Regions from separate parts of the Homo sapiens genome. Here all the other regions are linked to region 1. The links are contacts of gene promoters, found by promoter capture Hi-C in blood cells and fetal thymus (Javierre and others, 2016). All regions are on one chromosome and are shown on one strand. Each heading gives the region's core, a stretch centred on a gene start or on the middle of the fragment in contact. The rest is flanking DNA. Distances are from core to core; before and after follow the strand shown.

Region 1 (2,700 bases), core at 75-2,574:
AGAGTGATCTTACAAAACCGTAGGTCAGGTCATTGCCCCCTGTCAGACTCAAGCCCATCACAGCCCTTGCTATGCTGACAGGCCCATCCCACCCCAGCCCGCTCCCCCCACCACCTGCCCCCCTCCGCCACCTCACCTGTGCCTTCTGCACGCCTCTCCCACCACTCCCCCTCCCTCCCTTTACTCTGGCCACTCTGAATGTCACTGGTCCTCCTTGAGCCCTCCTGAGCCCTCTGCCCAGAGTAATGCCAGAGTGGAGGCCACAGCTGAAGGCAGAGGCTGTTGGCCTGGGGTGGAGAGGGGAGATTCCTCTGGGTGGAAGGTGACATTGGGCAGCCTTGGATGAAGTGAATACCTGGTGTGGGGAAGCAAAAATAAATAGAGAAACAAACGGATTAATTTTGCTTCTTTCCAGGGACTTGATTTTCTACAAGTGCTGCTCCAAGAGGCTTCTACACCCCCGCAGGGAGGCAAGCACCGTTTTGAGGTGGCCGGGCTGGCGAGGAGGTGCAGACCCCAGCCAGCTGGAGGGGCTCTGCCCTGATGGCGTTCCCACTCCCACCTCATTCGCAGGGCGCCGGGGAGGGCTGCAGGTGTTCTATTCCCACCCGGCTTGCAGCGCAAGGAGGGGAATCGCCTGACACCTTCCCCTTCTCCTCTGCCCCGCTTCCTTTCTCTGCTCCCACAGGTGGAAGTCACCAGCGGAAACAACCCTTCACTGTATGGAGGGCTGGGAGAGAGGGGCCAAGAGGGCCCCGGGAGAGCCACTGGGCGGCAGGCAAGGGGCGGGGCAGTCTCCCTTCCGGCTTCCGGGACCGAAGGGTGAAGGGCAAGGGGAGCTCAGGGAATGAACGAGTGCTCCCGACTAATGTTTAACCCACGACTCCGAGACTCCGACTGGTCACAGTCCTGCAGACCTCCAGGTCCTGCACAGGCGACGCAGCGCTCCACTGGCCCGGAATGCGCACCCCGGGGGAAATGGAAAGTGCCATTGAAATGTCAGATGTCACCGTCTTCATCAGCACTCTTGGAATTTTGGCCAAAGTGGCTTCTTCTTTTGCTGAGACTTGACTCACTCCCGGCAGAGGGATGATAGCGGCCTTGCCCCGAGCGTTTATCCGGCTGCAGGCGTCATTCTTGGTCGCCTGTGTGTCCAGAGCCCCAGCGCAGGAAGGGAGCGCAATTCCCACCGCGCCCGCTGGGTGGCGCTAGCGCCGCACCGTGTCCCGGGATGAGGGGAAACCGCGCTGCCCAGTCAGTACCCCGACGCCCCCGCGCCCCCGCCGGGCCCCGCGCGCTGCAGCCACCGCCTCTTCTCGGCTTCCTCTTGCTTTACAGTAACTCTCCTCCTGGGGAAAAGGCTTTTCACGGAGCAGGCTCGGAGCCTACGGGGCTGGCCTCGGACTGGATGGGGGTAAGGACGGGTGGCGGCGCTCGCGCCGAGCGAACGGAGGGCTCAGGCGGCCGGTGATCAGGGACGGGCTGCGGCCGCCGTCTGGGGTGAGAGGCCCACCCAGAGCTCTGGGCCAGGGCTCGCGGCTCTCGTGCAGATGCTGGGCCGGGAGGTGTGGGGAGGGGGCTTCCCAGGCGGGGCAACCGGAGGGGAATGGGGTGTGCAGGAGGGAGGGGAGGCGTGGAGCGCCCGGCCTGCAGGCACTGGGCGGCGCTCTCCAGCCTCCTCTTCTCCCGCCGGGTGCCTGGTGGCTTGGCCTCCCCTCCAGAGCTTCGCATATCCTGGCGGGAGCCGGCGCTCTCTCTCCATACTTAGGACTTGACCCTTATTCCACACCCGGGCAGGGAATCATTTGCCCAATCCGAATTTGATTTTCTGCTTGTGAGAGGAGAAACTGGTGACAGTGTCGCATGGACACTGTCGGGGAAGCCGAGACGTAGACCTGGAAGCCTGTACCAGAGGCCTTGTGGACAGCTTTGGAGCATGCATCTTAAGGCACACCACCGGTTTCTGCTGCTTTGGCACAGCCACGCAGCACCTAGGATGCTTCTCTGCACGCAGCAGAGGCCTAATCCGTGCACCCTCTGACGGTGTTGGAGGGAGCTGGGGAGCAACATCAGATTAATAGCCCCTGGGCTATTTGTATGACGTGCAGATTTCACCCTCTCATTCTTAAAGGGTGAAAGGCTGCAATTCAGAAAGGCGAAGATGGGGCCCAGGAATCTGCAATCTGCGTGGGGTTTTTTTTTTTTTTATGAAGTCTTGTTCTGTCGCTCAGGTTGGGGTGCAGTGGCGCGATCTGTGCTCACCGCAACCTGTCTTCCAGGTTCAAGCGATTATCCTGCCTCAGCCTTCTGAGTAGCTGGGACTACAGGTGCATGACACCACACCTGGCTAATTTTTGTATTTTTAGTAGAGATGGGGTTTCACCATGTTCGCCAGGCTGGTCTTGAACTCCTGACCTCAAGTGATACGCCCACCTTGGCCTCCCAACGTGCTGGGATTACAGGCATGAGCCACCGCGCCTGGCCAGAGTTTGCATTTTGTTGTTGTCGTTTGTTTGTTTGAGACGGAGTCTCGCTCTGTGGCCCAGGCTGGAGTGCAGTGGCGCCATCTCGACTCACTGCAACCTCTGCTTCCCAGGTTCAAGCGATTCTCCTGCCTCAATCTCCCAAGTAGCGGGGATTAACAGGCGTGCCACCACCATGCCTGGCTAAATTTTTTATTCTTAGTAGAGACAGGGTTTC
Region 2 (2,700 bases), core at 50-2,549, 510 kb after region 1:
GGTTTTTTTTGGCCCCTGCCATAGGTGCTAACTCTCTTAGTCACTGCACATACTGACCTGTGCTGCTTTATATCAGGAAATATCACAGGCTGGGGAAAGTGGTTGTAAGTTTAAGTGCTTGCAGAAATTGACTCCAGTCCCTAAACACCCAGCAAAATGCTGTTCTGACCCCCAGGGCTTCAGAGGCTATTTATTTAGTCCTGGTGTAAGTGCAAATTAATGTCCTTGGTCATACTCTGATGTCCTTCAGCAGAAGGATAGGAATGATTTATTGGCAGTTACTGTATGAATTTTGCTGCTCTGTCAGTGACTTAAGATGGATCACTCTCTGGTAAGAGAAGAATCTAAGTCCTTTCTCTGAAAGCCACTTGTGGTTTTAACATTTCTGGAGCCTGATTATCCATGTCCTGCTCTCAGAGATACAAGGTGTGTGCAGTATAGGTAGATGATATATATGGGAATAGAGTGACACTTTTATTTACACATTTTGCCTTACATTATAAGTAAAGGTGATTTTTTTTTTAATGTAGCTATTTCCATTCTAGAAGTAATTGATTTTCACAGGCAAAAACAGCAGTTATGTTGGAAAAAGAACAAGAAGGCAGGGGCCTAGAAGCGCGTAGAAGTGAATGAGTAATCTCAGGAAGTACTAAAAGGGACCTTGGAGATCAGCTAGTCCAACTGTCCATTTTACAGGTGAGAAAAATGAGATCCAGAATTCTGATTTTCCATATTTCACATAACCAAAACATGAGCTGAGGATTCAGGCCTGACTTCAGTGTAGTTCTTTTGATTCTTATTCCTTTTCTCTTCCCTCCATCTTTTCCTCTCCTGCCCACTCCCAAAGTTCCTGTATTCCTCTAAGCTTTTGCATTTTACTCTGCGCAGCCTTTAGATGGATTGGAAAGCTCTCTAATGTTTCACTGAAAGGACCATACTGCACTTCACCACATACCTTCCTGTGGCTGCCCTGAAGTACTAAAAATAAAGTATTCAAGGATAGCCTACATCTGTAGTAGAACAGTACCTGAATAGTGTCAGCTTTTTGCTGCAGGGGTATTTCAAATTTGACTTTTAATTTAGAGGTAGCTAATATAAACCTTTTAAAAAATTATTCCTAAGTAATCCTTTGCACTAGGAACAAACAAACAAAAAATTACATTTGGGTATATTGACCATGCTAAGAAGAAACTGGTGCCCAACCAGAAGGTGATACATGGCTGTCTTCTAACAAATGCTTCATCATTTTGCCTTGAAGATATATTTTGTGGATATGATTTCACTTTATATTCTAAGGTCATTTAAGTTGAAGTTCACTGCCTTTTATAGTACTGTTTTCCACTTCCCTATTGCTGTTTTAGCATGAGAGAGCCAACTATCCTTAGTGGAACCTCTCTTCTCCACATCACTCTCAATTTATTTCTATTTCATAGGTCCATTGTAAAGCCTAAAAGGTCTCCTTTAGATTCAGGAAATGCAGGAGACCAATAGAGAGGACATAGGTGAATTAAGTACTTTTTTCTTCCTAATTAACAGATTTAAATTCTATCTTTTAAAATGGTTAGTAGAAAGAAATATGCCAGTCTTCATTATCCTTTGCTTATGTCATACATGTGATAGAAAATCATCAGAATGCAGTCTGAGATGAAAGAGACCTTAGAAATTACCTCCTAGTCCAGCCCCTAATATTGTAAGTAAGGAATCTGAGACCCAGAGAAGAGAAAGGTTTTGCTCAAGCTTACCCAGTCAAGTAATGACAGCCACACCAACCTCCCACTGCCAGTCCAGGACTCCTTGTAGTACGTCATCATAAACTTAAAAAAAAAGAACAAGAATGGTTATTCAAACAACTTTTTTCAAAAGCGCTGTTGCCTTCCCATTAACAAAGATTGAGTTATATCAGACTATTTTCCCCCAAATTTAAATTTCTCTTATAAGCTTTGCCACAGCCATTCTGGTAAGCAAAAGTTTTTTGTTTTTTGAGACAGAGCCTCACTCTGTTGCCCAGGCTGGAGTGCAGTGGCACAGTCTCGGCTCACTGCAACCTCCGCCTCCCAGGTTCAAGCGATTCTCCTGACTCAGCCTCCTGAGCAGCTGGGATTACAGGCATTCACCACCACACCCAGGTAATTTTGGTGTTTTTTAGTAGAGATGGGGTTTCGCCATGTTGGCCAGGCTGTTCTCGAACTACCGACCTCAGGTGATCCACCCATCTTGGCCTGCCAAAGTGCTGGGATTACAGGTGTGAGCCACCGTGCCTGGCCAGCAAAAGTTTTAATTACACATTTTTCTTCATTTCTTCAGGTCAGTCTAATAAACATTTTAGTAGACATTTATTAAGCACCAACTATGTGCTTAACACTGTGCTGGCAATACAAAGACAGTCCTTGCCTTCCAGAAAACTACCTTTTATCTGTACTAAAACTACATCAAAAGCCCTTTAGTGGGGCAAAAATGACAGCTTCCATGTTTTATTCTTAGAATGATTGGTGACGTAGATAGAGAATTCTAGTTTCCTTCTCTACCTCATCTTCATTCCATCTACCGGCAATTCATGCTAATCCACAGTTGTTTGCAGGGTTGACAGAGAAGGTGACTATAGCAGAATCAGGCTTGCTAATGGGTGTATTCTACCACTTGTGCTGTCACCTGTTACTGGTGTAATCCACGTATACATCTGTGCTTCCCATTCACTTTGCA
Region 3 (2,700 bases), core at 2-2,501, 430 kb after region 1:
CAGTTCAGAGAGACTCCCTCTACTTGGGAAGAAAGAAGAGTACAGGAGACTTTGCCTGTGAATCTAGTGTCAGTTTTGCCACAGTAAAACAAAACACAGGGCTGAACCCCCACCTGGACATACTTCTAGACTTGTCCTGGGACAGAAGGGAATCCATCACCATGGCAGGAAAAACCCAAGTCCCAGCCTGCTTCACCACCAGCTGACCAAAGTGACCTTGGCCTTTGAATAAATATCAGCAGTATTAAGGCAGTAGCAGCTGCAGGCATTGAGCTAGCCCTGGTACTGCACCGGTCAGGGAGACTATAGGCTTTGGTATGACCTAGCATAGTGCCAGCTGCAGAGGCCATGGATATGTCCATGTCAGCCCTCCCCCACCAGGGAACTATCTCTGATTTTCCAGAACTACATCAGGGTTGGCGATCTTGGAGTCTGCAAGACTCATAGTGAAACTTGGCTTAGGGCCCTCTCTACTGCAAAATGGCTGCACTGACCACAGGTTTAGTGAACTCAACAGGTGGTCCCTTTTGAATTATTCGAAGGCTCCCTGAAGAACAGATACAAACAAGGCCAGACAGTGAAGACTGGAATAAGTATCTACTTCATCAATGCCCAGATATTGATGAATGTATGCAAGCATCAGAAACATTCAGAAAATATGGTCTCACTAAATAGACTAAATAAGGCACCAGTAATGACCCTGGAGAGATGGAGATGTGTGACCTCTCAGCCAAGGAATTCAAAATAGCTGTTTTGAGGAAGTTCAGTCAACTTAAACACACACACACACACACACACACACACACACACACACACACACACACACACAAAATTCAGAAATTTATCAGAGAAATTTAACAAAAAGACTGAAAATTTGAAAATAAATAGAAATCCTGGACCTGAAAAATATAATACGATAGATCAAGTAAAAAATGCATTTGACATCTTCAACAGAAGAATTGATCAAACAGAAGAAAGAATCAGGCTATTTGAAAATGCACAGAGGAGAAAAAGGAAAGACAAACACGAGAATTAAAAAATAGCTTCAAAAGAGCAAATGTAAGAGTCGTTGGCCTTAAAGAGGGAGTAGAGACAGAAAAAGGGGTAGAAAGTTTATTCAAAGAAATAATATCATGGAGTGGGGAGAAGAAAAAAAATAATATCAGAAAACTTTCCAAACCTAAAGAAAGTTATGAATATCCAGTTACGAGATGGTCAAAGAGCACCAAGCAGATTGAACCCAAATAAGACTCAAGCCATATAAAAAATCAGACTCTCAAAGTTAAACAAGAAAAAGAGGATCCTAAAATGGCAAGAAAAAAGAAACAAACAACATATAAAGAAGCTCCAGGCCAGGTACAGTGGCTCACACCTGTAATCCCAACACTTTGGGAGGCTGAGGTCGGCAGATCACCTGAGGTCAGGAGTTCAAGACTAGCCTGGCCATCATGGCAAAACTGCATCCCTACTAAACAATACAAAAATTAGCTAGGCATGGTGGCTGGTGCCTGTAATCCTAGCTACTCAGGAGGCTGAGGAAGGGAGAATTGCTTGAACCTGGGAGTTGGAGGTTGCAGTGAGCAGAGATCACACCATTGCACTCCAGCCTGGGCAACAGAGTGAGACTCTGTCAAAAAAAAAAAAAAAAGCTCCAATACATCTGTCTGACAGTGGACTTCCCAGTGGAAATCTTAGAGGCCAGGAAAGAGTGGGATGCCATATTCAAAGTGATGAAGAAAACAAAAATTACAAACTGAGAATACTGTATCCAGTAAAGCTATCTTTCAAACACAAAGGAGAGATAAAGACTTTGTCAGGCAAACAAAAGCTGAAGGAATTTATCACCACCAGACCTGTCTTACAAGATATGTGAAAAAAAGAGTTCTTCCATCTGAAATAAAAGGATGCTAATGTGCAAAAAGAAAGCATTTGAAGATATAAAACTCACTGGTAAAACTATGTACATAGCCAGGCTCAGTGCCTCAAGCCTGTAATCCCAGCACTTTGGGAGGCTGAGGTGGGTGGATCACTTGAGGTCAGGAGTTTAAGGCCAGCCTGGCCAACATAGTGAAACCCCATCTCTACTAGAATTACAAAAATTAGCCAGGTATGGTGGCGGGCACCTGTAATCCCAGCTTCTAGGGAGGCTGAGGCGCAAGAATCACTCGAACCCAGGAGGCAGAGGTTGCAGTGAGCCGAGATCGTGCCACTGCACTCCAGCCTGGGTGACAGAGCAAGACTCTTTCTAAAAAAAAATAAGTGTGTACATAGACAAATTCAGAATAATATAGTAATTGTAGTACGTAAGCTACTTGTGTCTTTAGTATGAACACTAAAAGACACACCTATCAAAATTAATAACTACAATTTGTTAAGAGAGAAACAATATAAAAAGATTTAAATTGACAACAAATAATCAAAATGCAGAGGGGGATGGAGGTAAGTATCTTTTTCCTCTGTCTCTTTTTTTGCAATCAAAATTAAGATGTCATCTTAATAATTTATTATAGCTAAAGATAAGCCTTTAAAATAATTTACTACAGCTAAAGCTAAGTCTCATGGTAACTACAAAGCAAAAACCCGTAATAGATACACTGAAAAAACAAGGAATTAAAATATACTACCAAAGAAAATCGCTTAAACCACAAAGAAAAACAATAAGAAAGGAAGAGAGGAGTTATAAAGAACCAGGAAACAGGT
Region 4 (2,700 bases), core at 129-2,628, 490 kb after region 1:
TGTACTTTCTGGCAAGATAACCCCTTTAGAGAAGAGGGTGCTAACTTGGGCACGTTATAAAGGCAGGTCAAGGAATATGAAATTATGAATGTGTAAAGAGGACAGAACCAAGTACAGAGGGAGGCAGTGAAGTCTATCATTCCATGCTCTCAAATGTTAACTTTCTGCTTTATATACATAGCAATGCCTCATTTACCTAATGTTGGGGAGTAAGGTATTATATGTGAAAATTTTATTTTAGCTATACCTTTTGTGGAAAAATTTTTACAATATATGCTTTGGTTATTATTACTAGCATACTGGCAGTAGTTGAGTGAGGCTATGAGATGATCGAAAAATGTAGTTTGTTGTCCACTGTGCTTTTTGAATTATTGAATCTACTTGAGTCGATTCAGTAGTCAGTCTTTGTCTTCTTTCAGTGGTGGAAAGCTGCTCTTTTGCTGCTGTTAGTATCCTTGCTGCCCTCTTTTAAATTTGCAGCTTCTTATCTGTGGAGTAGGAGCTTCCTGACATTGAATGTAAAACAGCTAAATTGGCTTAGTTATGTTCTACCTGCTCTTCTCCAAGTTTTAGGGTATGAACTTTGTAACCACTTATTTTTGTTGCCCAGGGACGTTTTTGTTTGTTTGTTTCTTATCGTTGGTGTAGATAGTGAACGTGTGCTCTGTATAGGTGCATTTATGTTCCTGTAGTTTTCTGTAAAAAAAAAAACAAAATAATATGGAAGTACTTACTCGTGTGGGTTCTTGTTTCAGAAAGCACTGCCAATAATACTTGAAGATCTGATTTCAGCCCTGTCTTGTATCATCCTTGGGCAGTGTGTTAGACAACCTCCTTTCTTCCTTTTAGCATTTCCAAATTGTCTTTACTCTTAATCCCAGCCGATACTAGGAACCAGGTTGGCAATAGCAGTGGCCTTGAAAGGTGGAAGCAGGATATACAGAAGGTGGCAACTTTAAATTGAGTGTATATAATTGGTATACATATTCGCTATTTCTGCATCTTTTATATACTGTATACTTGAATTCATTGTAGGACTTATTTCCCCCTGTCTCTGAAAGAGGCAGTCTTTAAACCAGAGAGTTGCCAGTTTAGAAGAAATTCTTATAACCCTAAAGGTCTTTCTCCTTTGCCCTTCTCTCCTTTTATTCCACAAACACTTATCAGATGCCTCTTACAGGCCCTGCACAGTGCTAAGTTACTTGGAAGTACAAAGCGTGAGTAAAATCTATCCCATCCTCAAAAAACACAATATATTAGAAGAGACAGATGTGCCAAAAAAAAAAAAAAATGTGTGTGTGTGTGTTTGTGTGTGTGTGAGTTCATAGTATAACAGAGGGATCATGCCTGGAGCCACCTAGCCATAATTTCAGCACAGATCTGTTTGAGGTTCTCCTGCTTCTGAGAGTGATCTCCTGTGTGGGCTGTCAGCTTGACGTACCATAGAACATAAGGCTAAAAATGCGAGGTCTATTGTTGTATAAAGTTTATGTGGTTTTCCAAGAACTGTAGTGAATTGAACACTAAAGATGGAAAGCATATGAAAAGCTGAAGGAAAATGTTATAATATTTGTAATGCCGTATTTCAACACTATACAGGAATTACCTTCTATAATCTAGCCTTAAATGGTGGTTCTGTACTGACAGTTGTGCTGTGAAATACCTGGAACTTGGGAAGTGTCATTATACCTGGCTTATTTAAAGGAAAATGCAAATTGTTACTCATTTCCACGTAGTGTCAAGATTACTGCGTGTGTTGGTTTTTTAGAACAGAACTCGCTAGCAGTATGAGCTAAAGTTTTTTTCTTTTTCATTTTTCAAGGAAGAGGGTTGCCCTAAATCAAGGTTTAAATGGGACAGGTTGCAGAGATTGATTTTTTTTCAGTTCACTTATTGAAATTATTCAGTTATTGCCTATTTCATTTTTACTTTCACATCCAGCAAGAAAGACTACCTTAATGCTTCATTAATGCCTGGTAATGGTTTTAGTTGCCTTCCTTCAGAGGGAACTTGTTAGAGAATTTCATATAAGTGATTCTGAGTTTACAGATGTAAATAAATGTTTAAATGGAAGTGAAAACAGTAAGGAAAACCTGACACTTGGACCAATTTGGATTATGTAAGAATTAGATTTTCTACACCTGTACTCTTAAGTTACTCTTAAGGCTTATCTTAAGGGCTTTAGCACATGAAAAGCTGTCATCTTTAAAACACAGAACTAATTTTCCAAACTGAAAACAGTTGTGAAAGGCATTCTATTTTAGCCTTTTTTTGTGAAGTGGGATAAGTTCATGCTTCCCATCTGTTTCAGTTACATTGAGTGTGGTAGAATTGAACTTTGTAGAGAAGGGAAACAGGTTGGCCAAATTAGTGACAGCCTCCCAGTCTTCTGCTTTGCATGACACTCACTCTGAAGATATCTATTTGCCTAGTCTTATCTACCTCTCAAATTTAGGCAAGAATTTGGCTCAGAAATACAAGACTACTAATTACTACTAAACTCTTAGTAATGCAATGTGTGGATTTGGCCCCTCACTATGTAACTGAGAAGACAACATTATGGTATATTGATTCCAATGAGGGTTTTCTTTGTCATTTTTCTCCTCTCTGGAGGTCATCTGGGTTTTTGATATGGTGATAATGACTAGCAAGTGATTACTGTGGGTCATCCAGGCACTAATCTTAGCACAACACATGTAG
Region 5 (2,700 bases), core at 48-2,547, 350 kb after region 1:
ACAAATCAAGAATCTCTTAGGCAGGCTAGTGAACTCAGAATTGCATGTCAGTTGAAGCATTACCATACCTTTTGTGTGCTGGATGCTAGAAATAGAGCAGTGAACAAGGTGAGGCAAAGTGTCTTCCTCCTGGATTACATTTCAGTGAGGAGAAATAGAGAATAAGGCTTTAAAATAATGTCATAGGATACAGAATGATGGGGCAAGGAGGGATGCCACCATGGCAAAACATTTGAGCTGAGATCTGAATGAGGAAGGTGAGTTAGCTGTGTGAATATCTAGAGTTCAGGAGACAAGAAGGCTTGTGTAGTTTACGCATTGAAATTGGGGAAGGTGGAGGAGATCAAGTAAGAGGCAAAAGCTGGAGTTGTTTGATGATAAATTAAACATGATGTATGAGAGAAAGAGTGAAAACAAAGATAACTTCTAGGTTTGGGGACTGAGATGGGTGTATGTTGGGGACATTTATTGAAATGGGGGGCAGGTCAGTCTTGGCCAAGTTCAGTTTGATATGCTTATTAAACATTCAAGTGGAGGTGTCATTGTGGCTGTTGAAAAAGTATGGATCATGAGGTCAGCAGAGAGGTGGCAGGGAGATAGATTTGGGAGTCATTAGCATACAGATAGATAGTATTTGAAATATGGAACTGGATGATAGATTATCTAAGAAGAAAGTATAGCTAGAGAAGAAAACAAGGTTGGAGATGGGGCTCTGTAGCATTAAAGGTCTCCCACAAAGAAGAGTATAAAGGAAAACTAAGGAACTGTTATCCCAGAAGCCTAGCAGTTACAGTACTTCAAAAAGCAAAGAGTGGCCAGCTGGGTCAGATGCTGTTAAGAGGCTGGCTATGATAAGGATAGAGGCTTTGCTAAAATTACAATCATCAGTGACCTTGATGGCCCAAAAGCCAAATGAAATGAGTTAAGTAGAAAATGGGCAAAACAGAAGAAGTAGAGGCAAGATTTAGAGACACCCTTGCAAGAAGTTATGCTGTGAAAAGGAGAAGAGAAATTGGTTGGTGTCTGGGGAGTGAGGAGATGGGTCAAAGGAGGGATTTTAAAGGTGGGAGTACTATTAAGGTTCATTTGTATAATGGTGGTAGAGGGAGAGAGATTGAGAAGCAATGGAGTTAATTGCAAAAGCAAACTTCTTTATTTTTTTTTTCTTTTTTTTTTTTTATTATACTTTAAGTTTTAGGGTACATGTGCACATTGTGCAGGTTAGTTACATATGTATACATGTGCCATGCTGGTGCGCTGCACCCACTAACTCGTCATCTAGCATTAGGTATATCTCCCGATGCTATCCCTCCCCCGACCCCACAACAGTCCCCAGAGTGTGATATTCCCCTTCCTGTGTCCATGTGATCTCATTGTTCAATTCCCACCTATGAGTGAGAATATGCGGTGTTTGGTTTTTTGTTCTTGCGATAGTTTACTGAGAATGATGATTTCCAATTTCATCCATGTCCCTACAAAGGACATGAACTCATCATTTTTTATGGCTGCATAGTATTCCATGGTGTATATGTGCCACATTTTCTTAATCCAGTCTATCATTGTTGGACATTTGGATTGGTTCCAAGTCTTTGCTATTGTGAATAATGCCGCAATAAACATACGTGTGCATGTGTCTTTATAGCAGCATGATTTATAGTCCTTTGTGTATATACCCAGTAATGGGATGGCTGGGTCAAATGGTATTTCCAGTTCTAGATCCCTGAGGAATCGCCACACTGACTTCCACAATGGTTGAATTAGTTTACAGTCCCACCAACAAATTTACAAGAAAAAAACAAACAACCCCATCAAAAAGTGGGCGAAGGACATGAACAGACACTTCTCAAAAGAAGACATTTATGCAGCCAAAAAACACATGAAAAAATGCTCATCATCACTGGCCATCAGAGAAATGCAAATCAAAACCACAATGAGATACCATCTCACACCAGTTAGAATGGCAGTCATTAAAAAGTCAGGAAACAACAGGTGCTGGAGAGGATGTGGAGAAATAGGAACACTTTTACACTGTTGGTGGGACTGTAAAGCAAACTTCTTTAAAAAGTGAGAGAGAGTTGGAATCTAGGGCATAAAAAGAGAGTTGAGTTTGCCTTTAGATAGAATCGGGGTTAACTATTCTTTTGTAGCTGGAGGAAAGACTGAGTATGTGGGTCTACAAACAGGTAGTTACATGGCAGTGACAGGAGTATTTGAGATTAAGATTTCAGAAGTGATACAGCTCAACTCTGAGGTTAGGACTTTGGTTGAAGTGAAGTGGACTTGATCATTGGCACTTAGAATGTAAAGAAACTAAGAAGCCAGGAGCATTGTAATAGTATATTCCTGTGTTTGTCCTATCCAGGTAGCATCTTGGACAAAATATTGGGCAGCTTTGTGTGGGACACAGCTTTTTTACTATGCTGCCAAATCTCTAAAGGCTACCGAAAGAAAACATGTAAGTATTTGTTCTCTACATTTTTAGCGTGGTTTCCCAGACTGTTCATGGTTATAAAGAAAGCAGTCCTAATGGGATACAAAGGTTTTTTGGGTTTGCCTTGTTTTTTCCTATCTTCTAGTCCAAAAGTTTTTACATTTATTTCTTTTTTAAATACCATTTTTCCATTGCAAATGTCAAAACTGCACATTACGCTTATCTATTTTGACATCAAAGCTTTCTCAAATCTGGAGTTTCCTGTTCAA
Region 6 (2,700 bases), core at 39-2,538, 370 kb after region 1:
CTGCTCCCATGGGAGTGGCCAAACAGGGACCTTGGAAGGGGCCAGTAGACAGTGGGACATGCAGCTCAGACTCACCCCAGTCCCATGGGAAACACAGCCCTGCTCTCTCCAAATATGGCAGTTAGCAAAGGTCAGAGCCACCTAGAGGAGTATGAAGAGCCTTGGTGGGTGGGCGCCTATGGCCGTGTTCCTTTGCAGCTTTCCCCACACCATACCCCCTGGGCTCCATGTAGACCTAAGTTCTGTCTCTGCCAGCTCTCCAGGCAGTTCCCCCTGGCAACTCAAATATCCAGGAGGACTATGGGATCTCCTGCCACTAGGATCCCAGCGGTTTGTGGTGAGAGTGGGCCATTCCACAGTTACTTTACTCACCCCTTCCTTAGGAGCTGTTCAGGACCAGGAATGAGTCCCAGCACTCCACAGCCCTGTGCAGGGTTCCTAGCTTCTTCGCTCTTCAACCCTGGTTCTGCATCATCTCTCCACCCACTCTCAGAAAATCGGTGATTTTCTCTCAGTGCATCCTCTCAGAAGATAGGCTTGGAGTATGCTGGTCTACTAGATACTCAGATCTCTCTTGGTGGGAGAAGCTCTTCCTGGCTTTGCCTAGTTGGCCATCTTGTCCCAATCCCGAGGGCATTTTTTTAAAATATTGTTGGAGTGGGCTTTGTTCTCTCATAGTTTTTATTGTTTCAAATATATATGCAACACTAATAGCAGTATTTAGTACCATTTTTAGCAACCTCCATAAAGGACATGAAATGTCATAGAGCGAAAATTATTTTTTGCCTTGTCAGGTTAGTGTCTGGGGCAGAATGAAAGAAACAGATCAGGCTTTGTCTAGACTAAGCCTTTCAGGATTCACCTCATTGCTATACATTTTCTTTAAATGTAATTTAGGGTATTAAGACTCTTTTTTTTTCAATCTCAGATTCCAAGATGAATCTAGACAATATATACATATACCAGCTTAAAGGTTCAATTTCTTTTACTGTATTAGTGAGTATTTCTGTGCAACAAGTCAACCAGACGTGTATAAATATTTGTTTCTATACTTGCAAGAATTAGAATAGTGGCAAATTTGTAAGTAGAACCTGTGAAAGTTTTAGTAGAAAACTCTGACTCAAATGCAAAATATCTTAAACCACATTCAGGCAACTTAAAAAGAAATGAAACTTTTACTTTACTTAAATACAAGTTTCTTTTTTTTTCTTTGAGACAGGGTTTCACTCTTGTTGCCCAGCCTGGACAGTGCAATGGTGCGATCTTGGCTCACTGCAACCTCTGCCTCCCGGGTTCAAGCCATTCTCCTGCCTCAGCCTCCTGAGTAGCTGGGATTACAGGCACCCACCACAGGCCCAGCTAATTTTTGTATTTTCAGTAGAGATGGAGTTTCACAATGTTGGCCAGGCTGGTCTTAAACTCCTGACCTCAGGTGATCTGCCTGCCTCAGCCTCCCAAAGTGCTGGGATTATAGGCGTGAGCCACCGCACCCGGCCAAATATGAGTTTCTTATAATCAGACCTGAAAATTTATACTTTAAGCACTTGAGCATTTGTGTTGTATTTGATTTGTAATTCAGTTATGAGTACATTGGCCAACATAATTTTTTTATTCAGAAGCTGACACTTGTAAGGTATTTATGTTTTTGCATATAATAGGTTTCAGAGAGAGGTTGCTAAACTGTGAGAGCTGTCTTAAGGACAGAAAAGACCACTGACATATGAATACCTCTCCCAGTATTTTGGAAAACTGGTTTTGAGGATTTGTTTTAACATAGTGAAACTCTAATAAGGAATTTTGTTTTTCTGTACTTATTTTAATCATGATTTTACAAATAAATTCTTAGTAATGTTTGTTATAAAATTATTTTTGCTGATTTTAAAAATATGCACCTAGGAATTTTTGTAATATATAATGAGAAAATAAATAATGGCAAACAAGTGTATCTGGAATCTCACCCTACCAGAGTCATACTTACTCTTGCTCTCATTTATTCATTCAGTAAACGTCTACTGAGCCCCCTGTGTTAGACAAGAAAGATATTGTCTCTACCCCTTCTCCTGTATAGATGTCATTTTACTAGAAAGAGTATTAACTCATTTTGGTGATTTTCTCTCAAAAATGTTCTAGCATGTTAATTATTCATAAACTATTGAAGCTCCTTATATCAAGTTCCTTTTAAAAGATACTTAAGTAGAAAGATTGGGCTTGCCTAAATAACAAGGAAAGATAAGAAATACTCCTTTGAAAAACAACTTTTAAACTCAGTTTTTAATGCTTATATTTTTTAGGTTCCTACAAACTTGATGACTTTTGAGTAGAAGCCTGAGAAAAAAAGAGAGGTGAACTGTTGCTTCTACGTGAGCATGAGGACCTGATAAAAGAGCGCCAGCTATAAACCATCCTGTGCCAGGAAGAGCCCAGAGGCTCTGTCTCAGTCGTTGGAGTTCTCAACCAAAAAAGCACTAATTTCAGGGAATGATTTGAGATATTCCCAGAGAACAAATTGGAGTTGCAAAACAAACTGCCATGAACCATGCTTCTTATCTCAGAACTGACCTGTGGAAACCACTGCCTTAAAAGAATGAAAGGAAAACCAACATGAAACACCAAATAGTGTGTGTGAATCTTCTGGCGGTGCTGTGCTTGGAATAGATCGTAGCTAATTTGCATTTCTTTTAACTTTGTAATAATTTTAGA
Region 7 (2,700 bases), core at 161-2,660, 390 kb after region 1:
GCTTAAAAAATAGATTTCTGCTTGTGTAGCCCAATTTATTAATTTTTAAAACTATGATCAGATGGTATTGATTAGTGGTCTCAAAATAAGGGAGAGAAACACCTATTTCTTGTGTTATTTTTTATTAAAGCAGGGAACAAATGGGACCTTCACAGTCCTTAAAGATGAAATACCCCCAAACCAAACCAGAGTTCACTGGCAAAGCAAAGCAGTGTCCTTACATCTCGGAGGGCCCTGACCCGCCTCTGTCCCGAACCCCACCAGCAGCGGCTCTGCTAGAAAGGGAACATTTTGTTCCTTTATTGTGGTAAACCAGACCCAGGGCCCCGCTGGTTCTCAAGTCAGCTGTGAAGCTGACACACTGCCTCTCAGGGTCAGTTTGGCCCCCACAGCAGGCCCTGGGGAAGCAGCCACGCCCTCAGCTCCCTTGGGGCCCTGTCTTCCATTCCTTAACAGGACCAGCTTCTTCAGAGACTCTGGACTCTCATAAACGTTGAAGCCAGATTGTTTCCCTCTTTGCTTTTGTTTTGATGTATTTTTAAATAATTAGGCTTTTACTCTCAAGTATTTTCATTCTCCATCACTGGCTGAGGGGCAGCTCTCACACCACACTAGGGCAAGGCATGCTACTATGGTATCCAGTAAACAGTTGCCAAACAAAGTCAAAAGTTCTCTTTGGCCAAAGCCAAAATCAAGTTCTCTTTTGTACTTGTTGTTCTTCCATCTGCCCTGAGCTATGTCATAGCTGTCAAAATATGTCACCCCCTGCACCTCCGTGCAGGGTTTAAGAAAAGCAGCTCCTTGGACTTTTGCCAGCGACTTTCTTGCAACATCTTAATTATCCATTTTTTGCTTAGCAAGTAAGTCTAGAAAGAACTGCTTCTTTTATTCTTGGAAAGTAAGTACTTGGGAATGTTCAATGAAAACCAGTATGTGCTGAACTCCTGCTCTGTGCTAGGTTCTGGGGAAGGGGAGGCAGTCCCTGACCAAGGGGATCTCACAGTCAGTGAGGAGAGTGTCCCCTGAGGTCGCTGGGAAGAAGCAACACATTTCCCTGTCCAGTGGCAACTACCTCCTCATCACCTAATCCCTGCGCCCGGAGCACAAACTCATCCTAAGCAAAGGCAACTGAGCAGCTGTTTTCCTGTTCACCCCACCTCAGGTCCTCACTACTTTCCTACCGATACCATTCTAAGTTCCCAACGCATTTTGTGAAAGTAAGTCAGTTTGATTCATCATATAGTCATTGGTTCTGATGTTGTGGTTCTAAGCTTATTTTATACATTGTTATCTAATTTATTCTTTCTTAACAACCCTGTATAGTAGAGATACTTCTTCTTGAATTACAACCAGAAAATTTGGAGAGGTTGAAGAACTTGCCTACAGTCACCCAGTAAGGAGGTGGAGCCAGGATTCAAACTCTGGTCTGATTCTCGGCCCTGGTGGACACTGGCTTTCAGAGCTGTAACTTGCAGTTTTGGTGCCCAGAACCTGCAGCACAAAAGCTCCGCAAATGACTTTGTGATTTATTATGAAACTCAAAGAAAGAACAAGCTTCCTACTTTAATTTTCCTTGCTAATGACAGTTTTCAGCTGAAGAAATCCATGTGCTGTCAACATGTAAATATAACCTTTTTTTTTTTCCAATGTCTGTTCCCGGGACAGAGCCTCCCAGTAGGCCTTGCACTGTGCTGCATGTGGTCCCTGGAGTTTTACAGCCTCACTACAGACACAAAACAGAGTGGTTAACACAAGCAATCCTGAATTGCATAAATGTGCTGGATGCCCATGCTAGACTAAGAAAGTTCTTCGTATTCAGGAGAAACACTGTGGCCCTGAGAGGCCAGGGAAGGCCACGTGGAAGAGGAGAGTCCATGGGTGGGTAGGATTTAGGACCAGGGGAGAAGAATTGCAAGCAAGAGCTGGAAATATACAGTTGAGGCTGGGAAGAGCTCACACTGAGAAGTGGCAACACATAAAGTTGGAAAAGTAGGTTGGAGCCAAATTGCTCAGGATTTTAAGTGCCAGAAGGAGGAATTGGAGAATGGAAGCTGGGAGACCAGGCAGGAAACAGCTGTTCTCCAGGAGAGAGAGAGCAAGGGTCTGTCCCAAAGTGGGAGCACAGGTAGGAAACAATTGAGAGGCATTTTGAAGGATGAAGGCTCCTCTGTCTCCTGTGCCCAGGAGCCCTGCCCTCTGCTAGGCTCTGGGACTAGTAATGCTGATTAACTGATCTGCCAGTGGATGCATTGGCCCTCCCTGATGACCCGGCACCCTTCTTGGAGAAGAGTGGGACTCTGGCCCCCTATCCCTCCATGTTCAATTGCCCACATCACTCAACTCTTCCTGTCCACCACACTTACCCTCCCAAGTGTATTTCCTCATCTGCAAAAACAGCATGAGAAAGCTCCTCCTTCCTAAGTTTATTGTGAGGTTGAATAAGGTCATGCGTGGAAGATGCAAAGCACAGGGCCTGGCGCTTGTAACCGCTCAGCAGATGGGAACCGCCAGCATAAATATTCTGCACCCTTGGTCAGCTGGGACCCATTATTGAGAGTGGCTATTCTCGTCTCTCTCTATGAAATGTTAGACACTAGCAGACAGCTGAAGGTGAAATCAAGCAAGTTTGAACTGTGGTCTCTCTCTGGGGCTCCTTGTCAGGTAAGTTGGACATAAGCAACTTCCTAACAAAAGAGCCAG

What was found. The method cuts DNA at HindIII sites, captures the fragments that hold promoters and counts their contacts. A CHiCAGO score of 5 or more calls a contact.
Region 2: a fragment that was not itself captured here is called in contact with the fragment with the promoter of C1orf220 in region 1 in 1 of 17 cell types (naive CD4 T cells); the score reaches 5.8 in naive CD4 T cells.
Region 3: a contact is called between a fragment that was not itself captured here and the fragment with the promoter of C1orf220 in region 1, in 4 of 17 cell types (endothelial precursors, naive B cells, fetal thymus and 1 more). The highest score is 5.9, in endothelial precursors.
Region 4: a fragment that was not itself captured here is called in contact with the fragment with the promoter of C1orf220 in region 1 in 9 of 17 cell types (total B cells, M2 macrophages, fetal thymus and 6 more); the score reaches 8.6 in total B cells.
Region 5: a fragment that was not itself captured here is called in contact with the fragment with the promoter of C1orf220 in region 1 in 3 of 17 cell types (total B cells, naive B cells and total CD4 T cells); the score reaches 16.6 in total B cells.
Region 6: a contact is called between a fragment that was not itself captured here and the fragment with the promoter of C1orf220 in region 1, in 2 of 17 cell types (naive B cells and total B cells). The highest score is 13.9, in naive B cells.
Region 7: a contact is called between a fragment that was not itself captured here and the fragment with the promoter of C1orf220 in region 1, in 5 of 17 cell types (total B cells, naive B cells, megakaryocytes and 2 more). The highest score is 15.7, in total B cells.

What each region holds. Positions count from the first base shown.
Region 1 is chr1:178,541,472-178,544,171 of GRCh38, forward strand. It overlaps C1orf220 (chromosome 1 putative open reading frame 220), which reads left to right and starts at 1,325. Exons shown (of 3, transcript NR_033186.1): 1 at 1,325-1,414. LOC124904460 (a long non-coding RNA gene) reads right to left here and starts at 1,174. Exons shown (of 2, transcript XR_007066748.1): 1 at 563-1,174; 2 at 1-355. RefSeq lists an enhancer at 1,020-1,079 and silencers at 1,130-1,459, 1,490-1,559. The HindIII fragment of the contact is 17,585 bases long and covers 1-2,700 here.
Region 2 is chr1:179,047,578-179,050,277 of GRCh38, forward strand. The region is part of intron 2 of FAM20B (FAM20B glycosaminoglycan xylosylkinase); the gene reads left to right. Among named protein-coding and RNA genes, the nearest start is that of FAM20B, 23 kb to the left of the region's middle. The HindIII fragment of the contact is 872 bases long and covers 864-1,735 here.
Region 3 is chr1:178,976,412-178,979,111 of GRCh38, forward strand. No RefSeq gene overlaps it. Among named protein-coding and RNA genes, the nearest start is that of FAM20B, 48 kb to the right of the region's middle. The HindIII fragment of the contact is 3,419 bases long and covers 1-2,700 here.
Region 4 is chr1:179,029,603-179,032,302 of GRCh38, forward strand. The region is part of intron 1 of FAM20B (FAM20B glycosaminoglycan xylosylkinase); the gene reads left to right. Among named protein-coding and RNA genes, the nearest start is that of FAM20B, 5.1 kb to the left of the region's middle. RefSeq lists an enhancer at 1-3 and a silencer at 1-66. The HindIII fragment of the contact is 3,274 bases long and covers 1-2,700 here.
Region 5 is chr1:178,895,302-178,898,001 of GRCh38, forward strand. RALGPS2 (Ral GEF with PH domain and SH3 binding motif 2) reads left to right here. Exons shown (of 20, transcript NM_152663.5): 17 at 2,363-2,455. Among named protein-coding and RNA genes, the nearest start is that of ANGPTL1, 26 kb to the left of the region's middle. The HindIII fragment of the contact is 2,744 bases long and covers 1-2,669 here.
Region 6 is chr1:178,914,039-178,916,738 of GRCh38, forward strand. It overlaps RALGPS2 (Ral GEF with PH domain and SH3 binding motif 2), which reads left to right. Exons shown (of 20, transcript NM_152663.5): 20 at 2,292-2,700. The coding sequence ends at 2,321. Among named protein-coding and RNA genes, the nearest start is that of ANGPTL1, 44 kb to the left of the region's middle. The HindIII fragment of the contact is 5,766 bases long and covers 1-2,700 here.
Region 7 is chr1:178,931,704-178,934,403 of GRCh38, forward strand. No RefSeq gene overlaps it. Among named protein-coding and RNA genes, the nearest start is that of ANGPTL1, 62 kb to the left of the region's middle. The HindIII fragment of the contact is 283 bases long and covers 1,270-1,552 here.